7 separate regions of the Homo sapiens genome follow, and regions 1, 2, 3, 4, 6 and 7 are each linked to region 5. Evidence: promoter capture Hi-C in 16 types of primary human blood cells and fetal thymus (Javierre and others, 2016). All regions are on one chromosome and are shown on one strand. The core of a region is centred on a gene start or on the middle of the fragment in contact, and the rest is flanking DNA. Distances in the headings are between cores, read along the strand shown.

Region 1 (2,989 bases), core at 336-2,835, 470 kb before region 5:
AAACTTAGTGTAGCTTAAGTGCACAGTGTTTACAAAGTCTACAGCAGTGTACAGGCATGTCCTGGGCCTTCACATTCACTCACTGCCTCACCCAGAGTAACTTCCAGTCTCACAAGCTCCATTTATGATAAGTCTCCTAGACATACCATTTTTTATCTTTTTACTGTACCTTTTCTATGTTTAGATATGTTCAGATTCTCAGATATCACTGTTTTAATTGCCTGCAATATTCAGTATAGTAACATGTGGTACAGGTTTGTAGCCTAGGAGCAATGGGCTAGACCACATAACCTAGGTGTATAGCAAGCTCTACCATCTAGGTTTGTGTAACTGCACTCTATGGTATCCACACAACAAAACTGCCGCACAGCACATTTCTCAGAATGTATTCCTATGGTTAAGCGTCGCGTGTTTGTATTATAGCAAATATACAGCACATGCTCTGTGGGGAGAAGAAGCAGTAGATGAGTTTCTGTGGCCAGCATTATTAATTGGCTAAGCAAAACCACATTTCCAAATTTCTGTGCCCTAGCTTGTATCTACTATAAGGCATATAGGAACAAAAACTTCATTTCTGTGGCTTCCTTGAAACAAATGGGGCCTACACATTTCTGGCCATTGATGCATAAAAAGAAGTAGGCCTGTGTCTCATCTTTTTTTTTCTTTTTTCTTTTTCCTTCTGCCGTAACAGTGGATATCAGGTCTTGAGGTATGGCAAGTACCTGAGGCTCATTAGACAACAGCAAGATGAAAGCCAATAAACTGATGATGGCTCTATCAGTCAGGATAAGCTAAGTTACACTGGGATAACAAATGACCCAAAAATCTCAGTTGCTTATAATAACAAAGTTTTATGTGCTGTTCACAATTCATGACCATCGTGTCTTGGCTACAGCTTCTCACCATGTTTTCCTCACTTAGGGGCCCAGTTTGACAAATCAGGCTTTATTTGGAATATGGATGGTCTCATGGCAGAAGTAAAAGAGAAATTATGGTGAGCCAAGTGCTTGCTCTTACAGGTTTTGCCTAGGTGTCACTTCCACTCAAATTTCATTGGGCAAAGCAAGTCAGATGGCCAAGCCCAATAGAACCAAAATAGAGAAATACAATTCTTTCCAGGGCAGGGCCAGGGAAAATTTTTGAACAGTCATATAAGCTATCACTGTCCAAGCTTCAATTCAAAATTATTTAGTTAGTAAACTATCCTTTCTGCACACAAAATATACTTAATCCCTTCCTATGAAAAGCCAAGTCAAAGTCTCATTTAATTATAGCTTCAGGGCTGATGTTGACAATTTTATGATATTATCTCGTCAGGTTGAATATGACTTGTCTTGCTCCAGAAACTCATGAACTAACGAGACTAGGTGTCTGCTTCCCCTACACACCCATGCACACCCAATGTGTCATGCTAGGACACAGAAAAGATAATTGCAGACAGAATTGCACAGGAGTTTGTAGTTCAAAGAAATCTGAGATCATGTGGGTAGCTATTTCAGTCTTCCTCCTATCTCCGCATATGTGATAATCCCTAATTAATCTGTGGCTGTGCATGCCATGAGTAATTCCCCTAGGATATTATTTTTCACAGGTCTTGGCTCCATGCTCTGGCCAGTCCTTCCTTTTCCAATATCTCCTTTGACCATATTTGAATAGTCCTTGCAGACTGGGCAGAATACTAGGCCCATTGCTGACAAAAAAAATTTTTTTAAAATACGACACCCCCCTCCCCCCACACACACAAGTGACATAACCCTTGATAAGTCACAGTCTCCTTTATCCAGGTTGGTAGTTCTGTGGTATTATGTCACTCAAAATCATAACCAGTTTCCTATACAAGTGCTTCTCCTTCCCTCCTTTCTCTCTCTCTCTCTCTCTCTCTCTCTGACATGGGTTACTTTGAGCCTACCAGGCTTCAATAGAAAAGCCATAACCTTTGCTTCATTATTTTTATGAATGGTTACCACCTTGATTTGATACTTGCACAAGACCAAGCTTTAAAAGGACTTTCTTACTTAAATCATTTCTCAGTTTTATCTTTAACTGTTGGGAGTTGAGAAATAGTATCTTTCAACTCAGTAAGTCTACAGTTTTTAGTTTCTCTCAATTTCCTTCATTCTGATTTTCAAACCAGCTAATTACTTTTTCAGATTATGTCTTGTTTTATTATACTTTGTGAAATATAGTCAATAGTAAATCACATGATTTACATTAACTATGCCAAGAACTTCACCAAAAATAATAAGCTCAATAGGGAAATTACCTATAAATTCATTTCTAAAGTTTTCTAAATGTTTCACCTATGCAAATTAAGTACTACTGCCCTTCTAAACTCTAATAACAGCTTCTTTTCTGCTCCTATCCCATCCCTGAAGCCAATGCCCCAAAAAAGGCGGTGCTTTGTTTTATTTTGTTTTTAATCTATGGCAACACCCTATGCTACGCCTTGCACTAATTTCTGTGTTGGTTAGGAAAGGAGAAGTTAGGCTGTGGTAAGAGATGAAGCCTTAATTAGTGGCATACAATGTAATTTTATTTCCTGCTTCAAGATACATGTCTAGCACAGGCCAGCAGCAGCTGTGATCCACATCATCTTCATGTTGGGACCAGGCTTATAGGCAGCTTCCATCTGAAACATTACAGCCAGTCTCATGGCACAGAAAAGAGAGAATATATGGAGAAACTTATGGCTGGAAACATGTTATTTCTAATTAAATTGAATTGATCAAAGTAAGTCACATGATCCAGATGGATATTAATGCAGCCAAGAAGTATGAAGAAGGCAGCAAGTATCTGTGAACAATAATATATTCTACCATGGGGTCGAGTAGAAAAATAAAAAAAAAAACTTGAGTCCCTCTGGCTTTATTGAACTGGTATACCAGATCTGAACTGCCTATAAATTGGGAAAAATAAAAATCTATTTGTTTAAGCCATTACCTGTATACAGTTCAAGAAGTAAGCAGTGTCTAATTTGATATCAAACTCA
Region 2 (2,712 bases), core at 207-2,706, 360 kb before region 5:
TTGCCTACCATTGTTCTCTAAGCTTAACTCCCTCTGGGACTTATCAAGGGAATCAGCAGTGGACTCAAAGATCTTAATTGGTTCAGGCTTATTGCAGCCACATAATGGCCCCTATGGCTGATTTTTTCAGGAATCATTTGTTGAAAAAAACAGGAACACGTTTAAACTAGTTTAGGTAAAAACGGTTTATTGTATACATGGGACAGTCACAGATGCAGAGCACAAGCAAGGTTGATGTGTCTCACAGACACTGGAAGGTTGTCTGGCCCTTTCTGCCCTTTCTTTGAACTGCCTGGTTCTTTTCTGCTTCTCCTGGCACTCGCTGCTTCATGCTCTCTCTCTCACTTCCATGTCTCTGAGCACAGTTTCTTCTATTCTGAGTGCACACGGCCCTCCTGCCTCCAAATGGTGGTCTCAGCCTCCAAGTCTCTGTAAACTTCTTGCTCTGGGGTTGGAAAGCTTTGTCTGTAAAGAGTCAGATAGTCAATATTTTATGCTACCGAGATCCATAAAATATCTCCTGCAACTATTGACAGTCGCAGACATTATTAAACTAGCAAGCATTGCCAGATTTTGCCTATAGGCAATAGTTTGCCAGCCCCTGAACTAGCTCTTCTTAAACTTTTCCAAATTATTTGGAGAAAGAACCTGACTGATCCCCTGTGGGTCAGATGTTCATGCCAGTCATTTAGGGGAGAAGGTTTAGAGTTGCCCCTTTAACCTATGGGCTGGGAAGAAAGATGGGCTTTTCCAGCAGAGTGGCTCAATTTTGTTGTCTGAATGGGAGCAGAGGGAGTGTGCATGGCTCATTTCCAGGCTTCAGTATGAGTGTGGGTGAGAAAAATGTCCTAAATGCTGGGGCATGCTGGGTCTACATTAAGCTTTATATATATAAAAAAAAAAAATCTAAGCAGTCCCAATTCAGAACACTCAGATCCCTATAGTTGTGGCCTAAACCCAAGCTTTTCCATGTTTGCAGATGGTCAACAGAACTACAGGGACCTTCAGCTGGCTGCATAGGTCAAAGAATGGAGTCTCTGGTGCAAGAATGGAGACTCTGGTGCGAGAATGGAGTCTGGTGCAAGAATAGAGTTTTTTCATGCATCACACACTTAGATGTAACCTATAAAACATTTTATATGTTCCACTTTAATAACATATCCAGGTATTGAGTACAAGGAGTATGTTTGCCACAGCTCTGACCCTTGCATCCTATGTCATCTGTACAGGATGGGGAATGGAAGGAGCTGAGGTTCAGAATGTGCTTGGTGTGTTACTTCGTTGGTAATCAAAAGTAGCACATTTACATATTGGCACATCAAAATGTTCTTTTTTGTACATTGCTGCAGGTTAAGAAAGACACAGCAGGACCTGTGTAGAGTCAGAGAAGGGAAAAACAAGTATAGTCTGAGAAGGAAGGACTTCCACTCCTAAATATATAGCGAAAACCTACTCATCATCTTCTGGGTGGACAGAGCCTGGTTTGTATCACAGGAAGGGATATGGGAATCATGATGCTGTCACCAAATCAGGTATCTCACAAAGGATGATCAGAGGAGGTCTTTGGAAGCTGAGAGGATATAGATGAATTTTAGAGAAGATTAAAATCTTCTCTCTACACAATGGGAAGAAGTTAGCAGAGGTCTTTTACCTGGAAGAGCTGCACTGGCCAGCAATTGAAGTGACTATGCTCCCTTGCATGTTGAGAAGATGCAAAGTCAAGTGGCTGGAGAAACAGAACCACATTTGCTGAGTACCTACAGTGTGCTAGATGTTCCCCACATTATCTTGTGAATCCTCCAAATGGTCTTGCGATGTAGATATTAATTTTCCTGTTTTTAGAGATGAGCCAACTGGGACTCAGAGCATTTAAGTAACTTCCTCAAAATTCCTGTCAGTATGTAGCAGAGTTAGAGCTCAGTCTTGGGTCTTTCTGAAGTCAAAGCTTGTTTTCTTTTTGCTAAAGTAGCAGTTTTCAGTCCCATCAGACCCAAGGCCCCTTTTTATAATAAATATCTTGTAACGTCTTCTTTACTACCCTGAAAAAAAATCATTGAAAACTAGTTTCTTTTCTTTTTTTTTCTTTTTTTTTTTTTTTTTGAGATGGAGTCTCGCTCTGTCACCCAGGCTGGACTGCAGTGGCGTGATCTCGGCTCACTGCAACCTCTGTCTCCCAGGTTCAAGCGATTTTTCAGCCTCAGCCTCCCAAGTAGCTGGGACTACAGGTGCGTGCCACCACACCCAGCTAGTTTTTGTTTTTTTAGTAGATACAGGGTTTCACTATGTTGGCCAGGCTGGTCTCAACCTCCTGACCTCATGATCCGCCTTCCTTGGCCTCCCAAAGTGCTTGGATTACAGGCATAAGCCATCACACCGGGCCTGAAAACTAATCTTATGTATAGTACTTGGGTTTTGTTTGTTCGTTTGTTTTGTTTTTGTTTTTTGAGACAGGGTCTCACTCTGTTGCCCAGACCGGAGTGTAGTGGCAGGATCATGGCTCACTGTAGCCTCAACTTCCTGGGCTCAAGAAATCCTCCCACCTCAGCCTCCCAAGTAGCTGGGGCTACAGGTGCATACCACCATGCCTGGCTAATTTTTATTTTTTGTGGAAATGGGATTTTGCCATGTTGTCCAGGCTGGTCTCAAACTTCTGAGCTCAAGCGATCCTCCCACCTCGGTCTCCCAAAGTACTGGGATTACAGGCATGAGCCA
Region 3 (2,886 bases), core at 82-2,581, 300 kb before region 5:
CCTTTCAAACTTCTGAAACATTCTGGATCGACTGTTTAACTCAGTAGTTGTTTCTCTGCTTTAGAAGATGATTGAAAACCTAACTGAAGAGACCAAACTATTTCTAAATGTTTACAATTTCTCAAATGATACAGCTAACCTCTTTGTTTCATCCCTAACCAGTTGAATTCCACTTATATAGCTGAAAAGAGCAATGAATGAATTTAATTCCAAGCTGTGTAAGAGGATGTTAAAATGGATACATAAATAAAAATCAAAGACTGTTAAAATCAGTCACGAAAAACTGAAAACACTATTAAGTGATCATTGTCACAGTAACATCAATGTAAGCAACCCTGACCTCTTTCTGTGTCACATCAATGACTTAAGTAGTTGCACTCTCGTTTCACATTTTGCCCCCAAGATTTTGATCTTTACTTCATGGGCAAAGACCAGGAAAAGGTGCTAGGATTCAAAAATCTGTATCTGCTGGCACTTCTCAGTGAAATGTCTTTGATCCTGTTAATCTTCTAAAAAATGAAACCGAAACTCAAACCAAGGGCCAAAACTGAAGAGCACTTTCCTAGCATTGGTGTCAACTGTTTATGGTGCAAAGCCAACCCTCAGAAAGGCACTATCTTCTCCCTCAATAGGATCACACAAATGTCAAAGACGGAGGGAAGCTTTGTCATCACCTACACAAATAAACTCCAAGGATGAAACTGAGTTACAGAGATGACAAAGGCTAACATTCATGGTGTCAGAAGGAGCAGAGCCATGGACAGAACCCAGTGAGGAGGGTCAGGCCAGCATCCTTCCTGCCACATCATTCATGACCCATATAGAGATGGATGGATGTTAGGGATGTTTTCACTGGTTTGATATCAGGAAACTGGTACGTGTATAAACTAAGAGGTAACATAACTGAAAGAACTTAGTTTGCATACTTTCATTTAATAGGTTTTCATCTAATGCTTCCTCAAAAAAACAATCTACATGATTGAAAAACATTCTTTAGCTCCAAGGAGAAACTGGCTGATACTGATCTTTAAAGCAAACAAATCTATAGTTTTGACAATTATGCCAGTTTTAATAATATCATTTTGCTATTATTTATTGTTGAGAGAAAAGGGAGATAAAAAAATGATTAGCAATTGTATTGAAATCCAGACTGGTTTTCCTAAAATACAAAATGAAACTTGCCGATTTGGCTTTTTTCAAGGTTTTGTTAAAGGCAGACAAACTGAGGAAAAGCTATTTATAAAGTAACAGGTTTTGCAGGTTCAATAAAAACTCAGCTAACTCAATGCAAATGGAAAGGAATCCAGTTTAAGGCAGTTCTCCCCAAAGTTAGCCATGCAGTTGGCTGAAGAAGTTAGTGGCCTGCCTGGTCTATTCACAAGTGAAATCTCTGAAAGTAATTCTCAGGAGATACAAGCTATCAAAATATATGCTGTGTTTGGTCGCAACAAGTTCTTCAGTATTCTATCCATCTTGTGCACAATCATGGTAGGTAAAATAATCAAGAAGTAGCTTCAGATATAATTTTTAGCCAATTTCATTTAGATTGTCACAAATAAAGAGGAAAGATGTTTAAAAATGCATGGACTGAAGATGTCTTTTTTTTTTTTTCCTGACTCTTGATTATATTTTACAGGAAGTGTATTCATAGGCAAAAATAGTCTGGTTTAAGTTTCCATATCATGAAAGTCTTTATGATACCAAATAAATGTAAAATATATAAAAATTATATTTCAAATATATTATAATTTTAAACATATAAAAATATGTACTATATATAAAATAAATGACAATATATAATATGTACAGAAAGAATCACATTTGCAAACTCATGTCCATCTGTGAATAGGTCATTCAGCTTAGTTTAATTTCATAGACATAATTAAGAAACACACGAAATCATCAGGATAATTTGATGGTTGATATCACTCAAAGGGGAGCTAGTTTTCTCCTCTTGGTCTTGTTTTCCAATGCTTCAAAGCCCAGTATAGAAAGCTTGAATATCAGAAAAACTCACTCTAATGTATTTTACTTGCTTTCCTTTATTTTGTGTGCTTTTTACAAGGGTAAGTAACTTCTAATTACATTTCCCATAAATCTATACCTATCATATCTTGTAGTTCTGAAGTTTTGGCACAGAGCCAATGGTCTTTTGCTAAAATAGAATTTGTAATCAGGCTAGTTTCTACAATTGGTATTAAGAAGGCAACCCAGCTTCTGTATCTTTCCTTCATGGGATTTAAGTGCAACAACAGAGAAAAAAAAACTCAATCTCATTTCTCCCATATTTTTATTACTTTTCTTTGGAAGTAATTCTTCCTTAGTTTTACAGAAAATGTGGACTTCCTTAATCTTATTGGCTTATTCCTACAATGCCATTACATATAAACCTAAAGCAAGAGGAAATATAACAATGTACTATAATTATCCACCTAAGTGTATATTTAGGAGCAAATATTTAATGTTTGTCTAGAAATTTGGTTTATTTGCGCTCCTTCCTCCTCCCCTCCCCAACTGTTGGGTTGATGAAATACATCCCAGAAAAAGAAAACAATCTGACTTTACCATCTTCTTTAACACTGTTAGCTCTCTTCTCTTTTTGTACCAAAATGAAAGGGTCAATTTTTTCAAACTGTTTCTTAGTCCTTATTGACCTTTCCCTGACATTTGTTAATGCCTAAGTACTTTCTGAGTCAGAGAAATCACAAAGTGTCCATCAGATGAAGGGGGGTCAGCGTTTGAAAAAGAAGAGGTACATACTGCAAATGGACCTCTCATCAATCAATGGTTAACACTGTCAACTTGAGGCCTAGACAAAATTAACTTATCTTAAAAAATGCATCTTGCAAGCAATAACGTATAATTTTCAAAACCCATATCCCAAAA
Region 4 (2,889 bases), core at 5-2,504, 400 kb before region 5:
CTTGATCTCCAGTCTCAAAAGGAAATATATGATGTCATCAGACCCCTAGTAAGGTATTTCTGAATGTATGATATCATTTCCATGTAACTCACCTTGCTAAGTCATTTAGATCCAACCGACCATCTTTATTTCTGTCAAAAATCTTCATCTGAAATGCAGAAGGGAAAATGGTTGTACTTGTAACAGGAACTAATTCTGAACGTTATTAAAGCACTTTTCTATTTTGCTCTTCTGATTACATATTTGCCTAAATTGGCTGAGGAGCCCACTTGCCTGGGGGAAAATTAGTATTTGTCACAGAAGGAATTGCATGTCAGCCTCTCTGTTAGGATGAGTCGTAGTAACCAAATCTCCTAAATCTCAGTGGCTTAACACAACACAGGTTTATTTTTCACAGGGTTAGCTGGCAGCTCTACTTCATGTTGTCTATACTCTGGCGACATGGAGTGACAAAGTAGTGACCATCTGGCACATTCCTGATTGCCATGGCAGAAAGAAAGAATAATAAATAATTTACTGATTAAAATTTTATTGTCCAAAGCAGATCCCTGGCCACAGCTACCTTCAAAGGGACAGAATAATACAATCCTGCCATGTGCTTAAGAGGAAAACTAATTATTTGGAGGATAGCAGCAACGACTACCACAGTCTCTGACAGGCAAAACAGGATTTTTATAAAGATTACAAGCTTGAAATATGGGTACTTGGTTTGAGTCAAGGTTTTCTGAAACTATTTTATTCTAGCCCTCATTTAGCATATCAACCACCAAGGAGGGCTTGGAGGGCTCATATCATAGGGTACTCTCATAGGGTATAGGAGAAACCTCATGTTTCCGTGAAGGCAAAAGGTGTTGACACTGAGTCTTTCCTTTCATAGAGAGACTTAGCATTGTCCAAAGAAGTTGTTTACATTATTAGATGAGACTAAACTTTAAACAAGATAGGACTAAAAGTTAAAAGTTTCTGCACTAACCACAAATTAGAAAGACCAGATTGGTTTGGGCAAAATAGAAGAGAGAGATTTCTTTGCAGATCTGAGTTGAAATGTGAGTGAATTTTGTGACTTTACAACATTTTAATGCTACAGAATATCTCTAAGCATATCCATATAAGGAGGCTGCACAGGGAAAAAGAGGGAGCGAGATAATCTGAAAATACATCCAACAGATTTTTGCTTTAAAAAATGCATTAGTCCCCCATCCTTCCTCTGTCTCCAAATCCAGTTTATTTTTAATATTTCAAATGAATTTGAAAACCTATTCTCACCACTTTGGCACCAAAAATGTGTATTACAGAATTAAAACACAGGTTACATTTTTATACATTTGGACATGTTACATGTCCAATTACGTCCCTTAAACATAAACACTATACAGTATCCAGTAAAAAGTCTGATGGGGATAAACTTTGCCAGAAGATGAGCCATGAGTTATTTTCTGTGACACCTTCATTATGAGAGGTTCTATCTTAATAGAAAGCTAGGTCAGCTTGAGCTCTAAGCAAGTAACAACTCACCTTGAAAGACGTGGGCCTAACTCCATTGCTGTGCAAACTTACTCCAAGAGAAAACAATCCTGTGCTCGAAATTGGCCTGGGTTGAACTAAACACCAGTGTGGTAAATTATGCTTCTACCTATCAGAAAATTGGCTATGGCTCACGTAAGAATAAGAATCAGGAAAAAAATCATTTGCCTAATTTTTCCATCTCTGAGTGTATACCAGCAGGGATGAATGGCACACATATTCGGCTGTGTCTGCTCTTCTACTTTCCTGGGGCCTCTGTAGCTCTAAGTTCAAATATTAATAATGAGGGAAGCTTGCAGCATGCCTGTAGCACCAGACTAGAAATCAGATCTTGTGTGACATTAAGACATTATGCTTCTTTGCAAGTATAACCTTTAGTGAATTTTGAATGCTTGGCATATTTGTTTGAGACATAATGGCTTCTTAATTTTTAAACTATAATAAAGACCATTTATGAGGGCTCAATAGTTTTTATGTTATTACATTTAATTATCACAACATCCTTATAATGTAAAAAAAATCTGCGTTTGTAATAAATAAGGAAACTGATATTTAGAAAGATTGAAGTAGGTTGTTTAAGAAGCAAGATTTTAATCTAAGTATATCTGTCACCAGAGCTCTTTCCATAAAACCAGGCTCTTAGCTCTATAAAGTCTGGATATCTCATCATGAATTTGGTTTGCTTCATGTTTGGTTATGAAGTAAAACATCTGGTGCCATAGACTATGCCAGAGATGTGATATTTACCTTTTCTAATTGCCTCTTTTTCCCTGGGAAAGCAAGAAAAGACTCTACGTGGATTTCCCTCCAATTCAGTGGCCTGAATTTCCCCTAAAGAAATATAAACTTCATGATAGTTGAGTCAACTCTAAGACTGCCAGTTTTCACTTCACTGGATTCATGCTTATATAGTTCATTTCTATCTATTTTCCCTACCCTTGACTATAAACCAAGAGATATAAGCCTAGTCCTGACAACTGCTCCAGGCAGTGGTGGCAGGTTGGTCACAGCCTGAGCTCCATGAGCAAGTGCCCCTGCCAGCCCTCAGCCCACAACCCAGCTCCCCTTCAATCCCCTGCACACACACACACCTGCCCACGGGGCTCCGTGCCCTGAAGCTGCAAGGGTGCTCATTTACCCTGGCTGGAATGATGATGAAGTATTCCTAGGCCAGAACAGGCTCCAGAATTTCTGAAACCAAATGTTCACTGCCTTGTGACATTGGTACTCAAATCCCTATAGCAAACATGCTCTGACCAAAAACACAGAATATGAGGAGGTGACCCCTGCCCAGAAGCTCCTGTCCCAGTGACTCCTGACCAAGACCAGTGGGATGTCCTGCTGGGCTGAGTGGCTATTTCTTGC
Region 5 (2,706 bases), core at 151-2,650:
ATCTGTACACAGACGCACATACCTTGTTACAGTATAACATGCTACACACATATACATGCTTAAACGCTAGGTTTTCAGAACACTCTCCCATCCTATTTCAGCTCTGCCATTTTAACCCTCCAGATAATTAAGTTAAACCCCAAGACTTAACCAGCCCCGCCCCCACCACCACCAAAAAAAAAAAAACCTCAAGGTACTCAAACAATGGGTCACCTTGCACAGCGTAACACACACGGGTTCCCTAAGAGATCCCCTATAGGGAGAATCGGTAGGTTAATCATTATTAAAATAAGGCTTTTATCATTAACCCTCTATTTCCTGGCCTGAGTCTGCGTCAGCCCTGTAACCCTTTCGCTCCCAGCTGGCTACACCAAGCCACACCTTGCCAAGCCCAGTCATTTTACCAGACTAGCGCCCACTCCCCCAAGTCTGCGTGTCAGAAGATCACCTCCCGCGGGGCATTTTCAGGAAAGCGCCTGACACGTGCCGGAGACGACCTACTGTGCGCTCGCCACCTGTCCTTCCAATAGGCTTTCCCGGACTTTCCCGAGTTTGGGGCAGTGGGCTGGGAGCTGTAAAGGGCTCCCCTCGCTTGCAGAACTCCCAAGTCTAAGATGGCCCGCCCCCTTCTTTCGCCAACCTGGATCCCCGCTTCCGGGCAAGAGGAGGTGCCCAGGGCTCACAGTCGAGACCCTCCTCCCACCCACCTCCCGAGGACTCCCGATTCCTCCCCGAAGCCTTCCCTCTCTGCACTTGGCTCTACAGGCGGTCGGATGGGAACAAACTTCCCGGCACCCCCAGTGACCCTGCCCAACACCACTCTGCCCTAAGGGGCGCCAAGACTTCTCGAGACCTGCGGGAAAGCAGAGGTGGGAAGGGAGAGAGAGGTGAGGAGTACGCAGAGGAAGGTGGAAAACCAACAACCGCGTGAATCTTACCTATCAACTCCCTGGGAACGTCAGAGCTCTCCTCGGTCATGGTTGCCCTGTAGGTGTGGGGGTTATTGCAGGTCCAACTCTGATTTATGGCCCCCTGCCCTTCCCCGAACTCCTCAATTTTTTTAGAGAGGCAGATGCAGCTTGCAAATGGAAGTGGGCAAGAAAAGGGGGGGCGGAGACAGAATTTTGCCGCGCGCCCCCCGCCCCACCAAAAAAAAAAAAAAGAGTTGCAAATGCGAGGCGGATTTGCTGCTGCTGCTACATGACGCCTCCTCGCAGTTCCCGGCGGCTGAATAAGGAGCGGACCGGATTACAAGCGGGCGCGGGGCGCGGGGCGGCTGTGGCGCCTGCTCCTCCTCCCGGCTCGCTGGTCCCCGGCGGGGCTTGGGCCGGCGTAGCTCCCGCCCAGCCTCCGCGCCGCACCTACAGCCCTAGGTGAAAGCGGAAGGCGTGGGAGAGGGCGGGGAGAGCGGCGCGGGGCGGGGGGAGTAGGTTTTCCTCGCGCTCCTGCCGGGCTCCGGCTGGGCGGGGGCAGCTCCGGCCCTCCTCCTTCTCCTCCTTCTCCTTCTCCTCTTCCTCCTGCGTTTCCTCCTCACCTCGCGAGAGCCGGCCTCCGCACCGGTGCGAGGCCGGCCTCCGGTGCCCGAGCGCTGGGTCCCCGGCGTAGGTCGCACCCCCAGGAGAGACGCTGTGCGGTGCTGCGGTGGCGGCGGCGGGCACCGCGCCCCTCCTCGCAGCCTCCCTCCCAAACCGCAAAAGCCCTGCGTCTGGAGAGGGGGCGAGCGGGCTCGCGAGAGAGCCCGGGAGCCATCTGCTGGCTGCGAGGGAGGAGAGCCGGGTGAGCCGGGCTTTCCATTTCCTTGTCCCCACTCCGGGCGGGCCAGGGGACCCAGAAGACGGGAGACGGCAGATTCTGCAGACCCGTCTACACGGAAGCTGGTTCTTTTTGGGACCCTCTTACGCACTTTTTCTTTTTCAACCCTCCCGGTGACATGTCACTTCATCATCGCTATTCTTCATTTCTGATGAGCTAGACGAAACCTGTGAACACTAATCATACCGTGAGAAGACACTTGTGTGTGTGCGTTCAGCTGGTGCTCTGCAGCCGCAGTTCGCTATCTCAGACATTCCCGTTGAGAGCGCCTTGGAAAATGCCTTTCACTCGGAAAAGTCTCTTTTATCCTCGGGGCATATTCAGGAAGCTGAGCTTTAATCACTGGAGCCTATGTAAGCCTGCGGATAGGTCTGATCCTACCTGGGCCCAAACTCCCTATGACTTCCCTGAGCTCCATCCCCAGAGGTTCAACTTCAGGGCCAAGAATACTTTGTGCCTCAATCGCTGCTTTTTAGCCTAGGGCTGGGAATGTCCCAGACTGTCTAATCAGGTTCTGCTTTTAAAGGACAGAAAAGGAGGAAAGGAAAGGGAATCCATGCACTTGGCAATCTAATTTTAAACACTGCTGTTGACCTTGGACCCCTTAGAATCATCTTCAGCCCCACAGCCAGGCCTTACCACTAAGGATTTGCCAACCTGGCCCCTTCCCACCCTCCTTAACCTCTCCCACTCCCTTCTCTATTACAACCAGACTCACTGTTTGCTTCCTCCTTCCTCTTAAGGTTATCTGATTCTTATCTATGTTTTCAAACCCATCCCAATGGTCTACCTTCTTTGTGAATATTTTCCAGGGATTTTCAGATTACTGTGATCCCTAAGCCTCTACAATATGTATTGCCTGAAACACTTTTCTAAACCCAACCATATGGTGTC
Region 6 (3,002 bases), core at 350-2,849, 260 kb before region 5:
GGTTTCTAAAACTAAATTTTATGAAACGTTTTTATTATACCAGACTCTCACACAGCCTGAAGTGAAACTCACCGTTTTAGAGTTCTTAGCATCACGCATGAGCCGCTCTGCTGATTTTAAATCTTCCTGGATAGCGTCTCCCCCACAATTTCGTAAGGAGTTGAGATGATCTTGTACTTTCACACATATTCTGTCAATCATCTGCTCCAAACCAGAAAAAGGCAAGCATCCAAGTCAGCCCAGCCGATATTCAGATAGAAGGAAACACAGAACGAAGGAGTATGAAAAAAACTTCAGCAAACCACAGAATGCACAAGGATGAAAACCTCAAACCCTTCTAACTGGAGTCACTGAGAATGCTGCTTGTAAGCAATTATTAATTTACTTTATTCATGCAAGTAACCTTTGGCAACTTTAATGCCAGAAAAAAATTGAAGGCATTTCAGTTCCCTTTCCTGCCTTAGGAAATGCAGCACGTAGAACAAAAGTGAACACTTCTTGATGATTCAGAACCTCACTCAGTGACATTTTGCTAGATACTAACTCCTTCATTAACTTTTAGTGAGCACCCTCTATGTGTTAGACATAGAGTTAGGTACTGAGGAAACAGAGAAATAAAATGTGCAACACTGAGACTGTTGTAATGACTACAAAATGATGCCCAACAGCCAGTTGGTCTCAATACTATAGAAACCAGAACATCTCTTAAAAATTGGTATTTTAAAAATCGATTCAATTACATCAAGTATTTTTCTTTGTAAATTAAGAGCCACCAAAAAACAAAAACAAATTGAGGTTTTATTATATTAACATAGGTAGTAATGAAGTCAATATCATCTAGTTTCTATTACAATAAGATGCCTCCCCTACCAGTTTAATTGCACCTAAATCATTCTCAATTGTTTTACGGATATAAACACAAAACCCAATGGGAGATGGTGGATCTCTATGGTAGACAAAAAATATTTCAGAAAGGTTAAGATTATGCTCTTCTATATTTGTACTTATACAAAAAAGCATGAAGGAAGCCAAGAAGTCTGAAGAAAAAGATAACCACAGTGTGGTTTTAAAAGTGTCTCCAATATTTTCGTTAGAGCTGCCGGTTGTCTATTTATTTCATGTTCTTAAAAAAAGTATTCATTCTTCAAAGGCCTTACATGTCAAGAGTCCTCTTCCATCTGATAATTCATTTGGCAGAGGAGACAAACAATATTCTTTTTTAGTTAAATTCACACTTCTCTATTTTGAATTATTTGATATCATAACGATAGGAAGCTAAAGTCTGCCCTTCTTCCCCCATAAATTTCAAAATGATAGAGACTTTACACACTATTCCGAAGACTTCAGGTCTGATTACAGAGCCCATGTCTACTTGCTGTAGCACTGCCATCTCTCTTGCCTTTTTCTTTGTAAAGTCAGGTTCATAATATCTACCGCACATTCTTTATTAGTGTGTTATGAAGACAATTCAATAAAATAACAGCACTCAAGCACCTATTGTTGAAAAAGGGCCAGTAATGCCAAAGTTTATGTATAATAAAAACAGCTCCTATTGCTGTAAAATATATTGAGGTTACATACGTTATTATCTTGAGATCCCCCTAGGAAAAAGAAGTTGTATGAATATTGCTTCTCACATCAAATTCTCTGCCTAAAATCCCTAAAAATCTAAGACAAGAAAGTTATGATTCCTGCCTCTGATTGTAGGCAGGAATCATATCTTTCTGCATTTACACAATGCCCTGCATAGAGCTAACTATAAGTTTTTTAAAATCTTAATTGATAGAAATCATAACTCTTCTAACTATTGTATTGATCTGTGCCTCCTGAAGCAAAAAGGGTCATTAATAATTCATATCTTACCAAGAATGAATGCCTAATTTCAAGAGACAAACCACACACTAAGAAAGAAACTGATATACATTTGGGGCTGCAAAAGGCTAATTTGAGAGGCATGTGGATGAGGCACTATAAAGTTGGTATCTTTAATCACCACGAGAGAACAAAGAGACACTTGAAATGTATGCCCTTAAGCATTCACCAAGGGGAGAGGATTTACATGAACTCAACAAAAATGGTCTTTAAGTAGAACATTTAAAATGTCATGCAAAAGAACAATCAAAATTAAGTTCTTCAATTCAAAGAAGACATAAAATCTCATGTCTCCAAGATTCCTCTGAGCATAGCTCAGCAGACCACATTTAGATCCTTTACCATGAAAGAGCTCAAAGCTCAGAAAAGGTAAACTATTTAAGATGACATGCAATGATTACACAGAGTACAGATTGAAAATTTTGAAAAAAGTAAATCAAGGGGTTTATCAGTTCATAATTCGTCTCTCAAGTACATAAATACGAAAAATAAAGGAGATGCAATCTGAAAGGCTATAATCTCTTGGGTTACCCCGTTAGAAGACCTCATAGAAGATGGTTGTGTTAGGGCTGTTTAGTTTAACCTCTCTACTTCACCCTAACCCTATAGTGTTCAGTTTCTCTAAAGCAATACAGAAAAGTTGTTGACGGCCATAGTTTATGAAGCTCAATTCCTTCCAAGAAAATGTACCCTGTCATTCCTAGATAAGGTTTTGAGTCTTAATCTGTCTTCTTACACCCTTCCTGCAGGTCCCATATCTTCCCCTTGAGAACACTCTGCACAATCATATGCTCTCTTCTAGTGACAGTCCTGCACATATTTAAATACACTTATTTTTCTTCCTTAGCCTTCTTTTCTTCAGGTTTAACATTCCCAGCTCCTTTTCCCATGCCTACGCTGACACAGTTCTCCAGTCCTTGACCTCCTTTCCTGTAGGTCACTTCTGCATTCTGTCTTCCACCTAGAACCTCATGAAGTCTCCTTAGTGAAATGGATTGTAACTAAGAGTGGACTGGAAAGCACAGAGCTGAGATGAACAGAGCTATCGTCTTCCTTACTGTAGAAAGTATACCTTCATTAATACGGTACAAGTCAAATTGACTTCTTTGGCAACTACATCACACCACTAA
Region 7 (2,937 bases), core at 249-2,748, 370 kb before region 5:
TAAAAGACATGGGGAGAGGAAAGACCAAAAGAGCTTTGAGAAGCAGAGAGACTGGAAAAAGAATGGGAAAACACAGAGACAGAGAGATGGAGAAACAAATGAGAAACAGAGACAAGAAAGATGGGCAACAGAGAGGTCAGAGAGAAAGGCAAGAAACAGTAGGAGATGAGAGCCATGAAACACAGAGATAAGAAACAGAAGTGAGCAGAAAAATGACAGAGATAGACATAAAAAAGAGAGACAGACAGAATATGAGAGGCAGACAGAAGTAGAGGGGGACCAAGAGATCTGTGTGGCTGAAGAAGGCGGAAGCCAGCCCTTTTGTTTCTGAACCAGCTTCCCCTGCCCCCCACATACCCTCCCCATGTTCTCAACAGTGGTGAAGAGCTCCTTGTTCCCTCACTGAGCTCTCACATGAGAATGTGATGCACTTCTATTCTTCAGATAAACAGCTGAATGATAAGGACAAACTATCTCCATCATTCATTTAAATTCAATTGTCCCTAGAGCGTCTCCTTCTACTATGAATGCCCTACTGGAGCTTTCATCAGATCGAGCCCATCCCCAGGCTGTCCTCCGCTCATGTGTTTCTGTGTAAAATTTTTCTCTGCTTTGATAGAGAGACTTTCAAGAGTTCATTTACATCTCCCAAGGACATATTTACCATCAGATGGACACTAGATAGATTGGCTTCCATTTGTATCTGGGCTCTGAGTATGCTGGTTGTTTTCTGGTTTGTCATTCCCTGAAAAATCTGTAACCTCTTCTAATAAAATGAATAATGGATAAATGATTTTAAATGGTTTGTGGTTTGCTATCAGAGGAGTATCATACATATTAAACACCCAAAATCTTAATGTGCTTAACATCTTTTCCAGCTTTTTGAACAAAGTGGGCTACTTTACCCCCAGGTATAAATCAATTAGCAGAGACATAACCAAGGAGACGTTCAAGACCAAGTTAACTGAGTCTACAGTTAGGATCTCTGAGTGGATGACAGATGTTACACTGAAAGTCAGTAACCAGCATGTCTAATGCTACAGTTGCACCTTTTATAAAAACTGCCTAAATCCCTCTATGTTGCTAGGAGAGGGGGAGAAATTACATACATGCAAGGAAGAAAGGAGGTGAGTTGGAATTAATAGGTACCAATCAATATAAGACTTGGATGTGCGTATCTTACTAAGAGGCATAAATTAAGGCTTAGTGTGCAAGTACTTACATCAGTACCCAGTTTCATCAACATGTGGAGAAAGAAAGCATCGAGTTCCTTCTCTTCTATGTAACCTTTTTCTAAATGTGAGAAAATAAACATAAATAATACTAACATATAAAAAACACATGACAGTATTTATCTAAATATGTTTTTAATCTCACAATTCATAAAGCTTCCCTCAACACTATTTTTTGTTATTCCAATAACAAAGTGCCAACACCTACCTCTAGAATACATGGGTTTGAACAGTAAACACTGTTCCAGAATACGTGCTTTATGCTAGGGTTTATATTAGTGCTTGGAAAAGGAAGGCTATTAAGTACATGAATTTTAATCAATGAATAAACGTGAACTTTCCAATAAAATTTAACCCCAAAATTTCTGAAGCTTGGAGAAACTTAACAGGTGTAAGTATTGAATCCCAGTTTGCAGAGTTAAAACACACCTTTTAGATATTTTATTTCTTTATTAATAAAAACAAATATTAAGTAGTTCCATTTTATTTTCAAGTAGTTTTTTGGTGGAGGAGTCGTTTTGAAAGCTGATAAAATTTATTCTCATTTTGAGAGAGTGAGGGGTGTACAGCAAAGTCACTGCGTAAAAGTGAGCCCATTTAGGGAAGGATGACTTCAAATAGCTGAGTCTCAGCCCACAAGCCTTGAACATATACAATGATATTAGTCATTGTATATACAATATATATGTATGTCTACCATATATATGGCGCGCTCGCACACAAAGAGAGATTGGAAAGGGGAAAGTGGAAATTCACCACCCAGAATTTTAACAAGGTATATAGATGTGTATCACCAGTATGCCAAACGTCTGTTAATGATACTGTATTAGGTACACTGCATTAACAACCCAGGTCGATAACTTTTCCTACAGTAAAGGGGAAACTCCAGGTCCTTTCAGCGGGCTGAGCTTGGAGCCACGTCTACACCTGAGTGTGCAAGTGGCTTGTTCTACTCACCATCCGCATCAAAGCGCTGCCAGACCTGCCAGAAGCCAGCGGCGTCCAAGCGCCCCAGAGTCGGTTCCCGGGAGCTGTCCATGGTGTTGACGACGAAGACCAGGCACCGGCGCGGAAGGACCTAGACAACTTTGGGAAGGACTCCTTCACCGTATTTCTTGACTTGCTCTCCTGCTTCTTTCGCTATCTGATTAGCTTTGAGTAACTGTTGCTGGGGAGGACGCGAGCGCTGCTGGCCGTGGCGTCGCTGAGCCGTCCCTCAGCCCTCAGCAAAACCAGCGGCTGGAAGCCCGCCCCGCTCCTGGCGCGCCTGTCCCCGCCCCGCCCTGCGCGCTGTCCTGGCAGATCCTGTCTGTCTCTGCGCTTTGGGGAATTCAGGAAGAAAGAAACTGTCTCCAGGCGTCCACGGCTCACTGCTTTTGCCCTTTAACTTGCTTCTCAGACTCGGAGAAGACATCCCTCTTACGTTTGACTCACTTTCCAAACTTGTGTCTCAAGGGGTTTTCTAGGGAGAGCTGCCTCATTTAAAGGGTTGCAAGAAGTGTCAGTGTTAGGGTCCTTTGGACTTGAGGATTTAGAAATGTAGTGTGTGGAGAGGGGAGGCGAGAAGGGATGGTGATGGTGGTAAGTGGTTCCCTTTAAGGAAGAAGTCAACAGCAATTATTGAGTCCTGATTGTATAGGACATACACATTGCTGTACCAAAATGCACTATAAGGACTTGCAACTAAACAGGGATACTGCAAGTC

Evidence for each region. The method cuts DNA at HindIII sites, captures the fragments that hold promoters and counts their contacts. A CHiCAGO score of 5 or more calls a contact.
Region 1: a contact is called between a fragment that was not itself captured here and the fragment with the promoter of CARMIL1 in region 5, in 2 of 17 cell types (erythroblasts and megakaryocytes). The highest score is 5.9, in erythroblasts.
Region 2: a contact is called between a fragment that was not itself captured here and the fragment with the promoter of CARMIL1 in region 5, in 1 of 17 cell types (erythroblasts). The highest score is 5.4, in erythroblasts.
Region 3: a contact is called between a fragment that was not itself captured here and the fragment with the promoter of CARMIL1 in region 5, in 14 of 17 cell types (megakaryocytes, erythroblasts, M2 macrophages and 11 more). The highest score is 15.8, in megakaryocytes.
Region 4: a fragment that was not itself captured here is called in contact with the fragment with the promoter of CARMIL1 in region 5 in 1 of 17 cell types (endothelial precursors); the score reaches 5.3 in endothelial precursors.
Region 6: a fragment that was not itself captured here is called in contact with the fragment with the promoter of CARMIL1 in region 5 in 15 of 17 cell types (M2 macrophages, megakaryocytes, M1 macrophages and 12 more); the score reaches 15.9 in M2 macrophages.
Region 7: a contact is called between a fragment that was not itself captured here and the fragment with the promoter of CARMIL1 in region 5, in 2 of 17 cell types (erythroblasts and megakaryocytes). The highest score is 7.2, in erythroblasts.

What each region holds. Positions count from the first base shown.
Region 1 is chr6:25,749,531-25,752,519 of GRCh38, reverse strand. It overlaps a transcript of SLC17A1 not described here. Among named protein-coding and RNA genes, the nearest start is that of SLC17A4, 3.7 kb to the left of the region's middle. The HindIII fragment of the contact is 824 bases long and covers 1,174-1,997 here.
Region 2 is chr6:25,633,283-25,635,994 of GRCh38, reverse strand. No RefSeq gene overlaps it. Among named protein-coding and RNA genes, the nearest start is that of SCGN, 18 kb to the left of the region's middle. RefSeq lists an enhancer at 1-356. The HindIII fragment of the contact is 983 bases long and covers 965-1,947 here.
Region 3 is chr6:25,577,985-25,580,870 of GRCh38, reverse strand. All of the region lies in intron 29 of CARMIL1 (capping protein regulator and myosin 1 linker 1), which reads right to left. Among named protein-coding and RNA genes, the nearest start is that of SCGN, 73 kb to the left of the region's middle. The HindIII fragment of the contact is 1,333 bases long and covers 665-1,997 here.
Region 4 is chr6:25,679,210-25,682,098 of GRCh38, reverse strand. SCGN (secretagogin, EF-hand calcium binding protein) reads right to left here. Exons shown (of 11, transcript NM_006998.4): 7 at 93-148. It overlaps LOC124901284 (a long non-coding RNA gene), which reads left to right. Exons shown (of 2, transcript XR_007059517.1): 2 at 1-226. It also overlaps the pseudogene PRELID1P2. Among named protein-coding and RNA genes, the nearest start is that of SCGN, 28 kb to the right of the region's middle. The HindIII fragment of the contact is 1,128 bases long and covers 691-1,818 here.
Region 5 is chr6:25,278,068-25,280,773 of GRCh38, reverse strand. CARMIL1 (capping protein regulator and myosin 1 linker 1) reads right to left here and starts at 1,400. Exons shown (of 37, transcript NM_017640.6): 1 at 939-1,400. The coding sequence starts at 978. RefSeq lists a silencer at 1,203-1,672. The HindIII fragment of the contact is 9,381 bases long and covers 1-2,706 here.
Region 6 is chr6:25,535,054-25,538,055 of GRCh38, reverse strand. It overlaps CARMIL1 (capping protein regulator and myosin 1 linker 1), which reads right to left. Exons shown (of 37, transcript NM_017640.6): 25 at 73-201. Among named protein-coding and RNA genes, the nearest start is that of SCGN, 120 kb to the left of the region's middle. The HindIII fragment of the contact is 3,740 bases long and covers 1-3,002 here.
Region 7 is chr6:25,651,738-25,654,674 of GRCh38, reverse strand. SCGN (secretagogin, EF-hand calcium binding protein) reads right to left here and starts at 2,460. Exons shown (of 11, transcript NM_006998.4): 1 at 2,190-2,460; 2 at 1,223-1,293. The coding sequence starts at 2,271. The HindIII fragment of the contact is 215 bases long and covers 1,391-1,605 here.